2 separate regions of the Homo sapiens genome follow, and region 1 is linked to region 2. Evidence: promoter capture Hi-C in 16 types of primary human blood cells and fetal thymus (Javierre and others, 2016). All regions are on one chromosome and are shown on one strand. The core of a region is centred on a gene start or on the middle of the fragment in contact, and the rest is flanking DNA. Distances in the headings are between cores, read along the strand shown. Region 1 overlaps SLC13A1 (solute carrier family 13 member 1). Region 2 holds the start of CADPS2 (calcium dependent secretion activator 2).

What was found. The method cuts DNA at HindIII sites, captures the fragments that hold promoters and counts their contacts. A CHiCAGO score of 5 or more calls a contact.
Region 1: a contact is called between a fragment that was not itself captured here and the fragment with the promoter of CADPS2 in region 2, in 1 of 17 cell types (endothelial precursors). The highest score is 6.1, in endothelial precursors.

What each region holds. Positions count from the first base shown.
Region 1 is chr7:123,159,601-123,162,300 of GRCh38, forward strand. The region is part of intron 6 of SLC13A1 (solute carrier family 13 member 1); the gene reads right to left. Among named protein-coding and RNA genes, the nearest start is that of SLC13A1, 39 kb to the right of the region's middle. The HindIII fragment of the contact is 6,842 bases long and covers 1-2,700 here.
Region 2 is chr7:122,885,116-122,887,815 of GRCh38, forward strand. It overlaps CADPS2 (calcium dependent secretion activator 2), which reads right to left and starts at 1,345. Exons shown (of 30, transcript NM_017954.11): 1 at 884-1,345. The coding sequence starts at 1,222. RefSeq lists an enhancer at 633-682 and silencers at 1,043-1,172, 1,213-1,262, 1,273-1,352, 1,423-1,582, 1,593-1,752. The HindIII fragment of the contact is 15,066 bases long and covers 1-2,700 here.

The DNA.
Region 1 (2,700 bases), core at 111-2,610, 270 kb after region 2:
GTCTAACAATATAGAAAATGATTGGACAATTAAAATAGACACAAAGTATAGAATAGACCACCCATACAAGTGTGTGTGTAGCGTGAAATAAAAGAAAATAACTGCATAGGAACGCAGGAAGAAAAGATGGAAAGAATATTTGGAAAAAATAAAAAGCTGGCAGTAGAAATTATTCTAAATATATAATGTCACAAATAATTTAAATGGATAAAACATGTCGGGTAGAGGTAAAACTTTTCAAACATAATAAAAGAGATACACCTAAAATATAAGGACACAGAAATATTGAAAGTGAAAGGATAGAGGAAATGCCAGGTAAATACCAGCTTTATAAAAGCTGGTAGTGTCATAAAGTGTTGAAAGTGAAAGGATAGAGGAAATGCCAGGTAAATACTAGCCTTATAAAAGCTGGTAGTGTCATGCCTGTAATCCCAGCACTTTGGGAGGCCGAGGTGGGCGAATTATGAGGTCAGGAGTTCGAGACTAGCCTGGCCAACATAGTGACATCCCTTCTTTACTAAAAATACAAAAAATTAGCTGGGCACCTGTAATCCCAGCTACTCAGGAGGCTGAGGCAGGAGAATCGCTTGAACCCAGGAGGCGGAGGTTGCAGTGAGCTGAGATCGTGTCACTGCACTCTAGCCTAGGTGGCAGAGTGAGACTCAGTCTCAAAAAAAAAAAAAAAAAGCTGGTCGTCCTGTATTATCAGCAGACAAATAAACTCAAAGACCAAAAAAATTAAGATAGATGAAGAGGTGCACAGCAAAATGATAAAAGGTTAATCAATCACACACACAGAAACATTCTAAATGGGTTCAGAATAACATAATTTAACAATGCAGAGGAACCAAAATGGACAGAAGTATCAGAAGAAATAGAATACCTGCATGATAGAAGGAGAGTTTAACAAAACAGTCTCATCAGTTGCTGAATAAAAAGAGACAAAACTTGGTCAGAGCACAGAGATTTGAGAAGCACAACTAGTAACTTGATCTTACAGAGTTTTGGAAAACATCGAACCTAATTAGTTAAAAATGTACAATTTGTTTTAAGCACAATGAAAAATATTTATTATAGCTGACTATGTGCTAGTCCGAAAAGCTGCTTTAACAAGTTTTAGAGAACTGTTATATAGACCACAGTTTCTGACCGCAGAAAAATTGTTAGAAAAAATTTAAAAGTAGCTAAAAATCTAATTTATTTTAAATTTCAAAACACATTTCTAAGCATCTTTTGAGTGAAAAAAATCTAGTATAATGGAAATCAGAAAACACAAAACTGAAAAATATGGAAAATAGCTAAAGTAATAGAAGCAAATTCATATCCTTAAATCCTTACTTTGGAAGAGAGGAAAAACTCAAAACTAATAAGGTAAAGGTCAGATTTTAAAAATTAGTAAAAGAGCAAGAGCATAAATACACCAACAAAGTAGACAGAACAAAGTAATAAAGAAAACTATTAAAAATAATATGAAATATACATTAAATAGAGAGGGTGAAAGGAGTCAGAAGTTGGTTCTTTGACAAGACTTGTAAGACTAATAAAATAGACATAGTTTGGAAAGATTATTTGAAAAATAATCTTTAAAATACAGATTTAAATAAAATAAGATAAATAAAGATTTACATTAAAAAAGACTTAAATAAAATATTTTATTTAAATGAAATAAAGATTATTTAAAAATAATCTTTAAATAATCTTTAAAAGCACAAGAAAAATGTTAGAAATAAAGACATATAACTATAAATACTATAGAAATTAAGTAGATATAAGAAAATATTATAAACAACCACACACTACTAAATTTGACATGGAACACATAAATTTCTTTTTAAAAATGCAATTGTTTGATGTTGAAATAGAAAATCTGAATACTCTTAAATCCAGGAAAGTAATAGAATAATTTCTAAGTACATATGCCTTCCACTTTCTCCTTTCCTTGAGCAGCTAGCTGCGATACAGAATGGACAGAGGGAGATGGGGAGCCATCTTGAACTGCAAGTTTCCAGTGCTGGAAATGGCAGAGAAGAGATAGAAAGAGTCAGGGGCATGGTGATGAAGGAGCCACTATACCAGCCTATTTCTATCTTGTTGAAATTGTTGCTATATTTGGTCTTTGCTGTGGCGACCAATCCATACCTTAACTAGTGCAAGTGATAAAACAAAAGAAAACAAGAGAATGATTAACACAAAATTTGGACTATAGCTAACTTGGCAAGGGGTTGGGGGTGATTCTGTAAGGAAAAGAGATAGGCTCGTGTAGATTTTAGAAATCATTATGTTCTAGTTATTAAGCTGGGATGTGGTATACATTATCTTATTTTGTTATTCTTCAAAATATTTAGTCACGTTTTATACAGGCATATATGCATGAAATATTTCTTAATCAAAATACAGAAAAATCAATTTGGAGACAAACATATTTCTTTTTTTTTTTTTTTTAGAAAATACCACTAGAAGATGCATAGGAGAACACTGTTGAGTATTTCAAGAAATAAAATATAGTATTCAAATAAGCTATGTAGTGTGGGGGGCTTATTGTACAGTTAAAGTACAGATATCACTAATATGGCTGAGCTTATGCTATTTGCTAGATAATATTTCAATAACATAAAATGTGAAGAACTAGATTTTTGTATTTCATAAAATAAAGATATATGGGAGAAATGATATTGTCAAAAGTCAATAGTTTCTTTAATA
Region 2 (2,700 bases), core at 95-2,594:
AGTTTGTATTGTAAACATTTAACCACTTAGGACAATTTGAGTCATTACTCGTGTCTGGTACAGAACATCAGGCCCCTGGGGTCTTGTTTTGAAACTCAAGTTGGCCAGCCTTTCACCTGAAACAAACTTCTTACCTTTTGGGGGAGAATAAGCATTTTGTTCCCCAAAAAAGCATTTGGAAAGCATTTGTTATGAAGTGATCATGCACCAATCCTTTATCTTTCATCAGTAATAGTATATTTCATTAATCAGGCCTGCCCAGACCAGAAATTACTTACCCACAAACACTTTACAAAGCTGCATGCCTTCTCGGTGTTTGGATTTGATGTCCTGGTTGTATGACAATATAGGAAACGTATTAATTTAACTTTTTTATTCACTGAGGAAAATTTCTACCCCTCTTAAGTGAAGACTTCACTCTAGCTAAGAGAAGTACTCGGGCTCCACCTGTTTCGCCTAGCTACAACACTCATTCAGACCCTCGGCAAACCCAGCTCTAGCAATATCACGCCAGGCTAGGTGGACAGGAATGCACCAGTGCTGTTGGAAATTAAAGTTGATGGGAGTTGCATTCTAATCCGGCCAGAGCTGCGCCTGCCGGGTGCAACCGCGGCGCGGCCGGCGCTGTCGGTCTCTGTCTCACGGATGGTGAGCTGACAGCTCCTGCCAGCCCAGGCGGGGAGGAGGAGAAGAGGTGTCCGCTGCAGCCGCATACCCGGCGGGTGAAAGCACCGTCTTGTCCCCAAAGATTCCTCTGCCCTCAGAGACTAACAAAAATACGGTGTCCTGCGTTTCGCAGAAGGACGGGAGGCGTCCCAGAGCTCTCCCGGGAGAAAAACCCAGGGAGAAGTGGTGGTAGGAGGCGCCCGGTCCCGCAACTCACCTTCTGCTGCCTCCGGGCCATGTCGGTGGGCTGCTTGGCGTTGAAGGGGTACGCGATGCACCTCACGACGAAGACGTAGAGCTGCAGGCGGATCCTCCGCTCCTGCTCATCGTCCAGCTGCCGCTGGGGCTCGTCTCGCCCCTCGCTGAGCACAGAGGGGCTCGGGCTCACAGATCTGGCCGCGCCGCCGCCGCCCGCGCGCCCCGGCGCGTCCCGCCGCCCTTCCCGAGTCGGGGCTGGAGGAGCTCGCTGCGAGCTGCCGGCTGCCACCAGCACATCGCGGCTTTCCTCTTCCAGCCCCTCGTCCGACTCCTCTTCGCTGGAAGACGGGTCCAGCATGGTGCTCGGGGATCCCCGCCGCTCGGCCCGCGGTCCCCAAGCGCCTCACCCCCGGCGGCTGCGCCCGCGGGTCTGAGGGAGCCGCGGGGCTGGCTGCAGCGGCCGCAGAACGAAAGGAAAACTGGCCAGGGCTTTCCGGACACGTCGAGTTAGATTCAGGAGTGTTTCCTACCACCAGGGCGAAAGGGGCGGGCAGGAGCCGGGAGGAGGATTGGGAGGGGGGAGAGGGGGAGCCGCCGGGACTGAATAGGCGGAGTTAGCGTTGGGGGTGAGCTTGGGCGCCTCAGGAATTGCTCCGCCAGCCCCGGGCGCGCCGACCCAGCGGTTCCCCAGAGCCCGCCGGCAGAGGCGGAGCCGCCCGAGCGCCCGGACGCAGGTGGGGAACCTGTGGCGCCTACAACAAGCAACACGTGGAATTGAATGTTGAAGAGCCGCGCGGGGCCGCGGAGTGCGCGTGCGCGCGCCGCCGCTGCTGCCCGGGCCCGCCTGGAGCCCTAGCACACAGTTTGCAAAGGCGGGGAGCGGCCGAGCGCGATGGCCCGTGTAAGCGTCCACCGGGGCTGCTCCGACTACCCTCACCCTACCACCTGTGATCTTTTCTCCAGCAGGTGGAGGTGGAATGGGGAGCGGGGAGGGACTGTTCCCTAGCAAGAGGTTAGGGGGAGCGGCCGAGACATCTCCCCAACCCGAATCGGCTGCCTAGGATTGAACCCCAGCGCGGAAAAGCGGGACTGGAGCCCTTCACCACGAAGTATCTTTGCGACAAGACTTTGAAAAGTCTCACTCTGCTCTGCTGCCGTTTTGATACTCATGCTGAAGCCCAAATTATAAAAGTCGGAGTAATGAAAAAAAAAAGAAAACCAACGAGGCTTACTTTTTAAACTGTTCTAGTCCTGCAGACTCAAGGCAAGAGAGATTTTATATGTGCAAAATGATACTGATTCAGCTCAAACATATCTCGATTATTTTCTGGGTTGGGATGCAGTTGACTCAAAACAGGTTGTGTAGTGTGGACATTTATTCAACAAAGATTTGAGCGCCCTCCCGGTGTCCAGCACTGTTAGCCTTTTGCGGAGCCCGCGGTGACTAAGGCACATGACACTCAGTCGCTGGTGGTTCTGGCCTCAAGTCGGCGTCTTGTAGCTGCGCTGAAGCCTGCCTTATCTGCGCAGATTTCTCAGTCCTAGTGCTGGAACCACCTAGGAGTTTCTTATAGTAATTCTGTATCTTATGTCCTAAGTCCTGACAGAGGGGGAAATAGGCAAAACAATGCATTCAACACCAGGTGGAGTGTGCAGCGACCAGGTGGGCAGGGAGGTGATGAAGTTCAGTGGAAATAACACAGGGCAAATTAACTACCAGCTCTGAGCTCCTCTACCACCATGGTCAAACAGCAGTTTTAGCTTTTTCAGGCCACTTTCATATAGTTAGGTACACAAGAGAGACTTCTGCACTTACTGACATTCTCTCTAGATGGG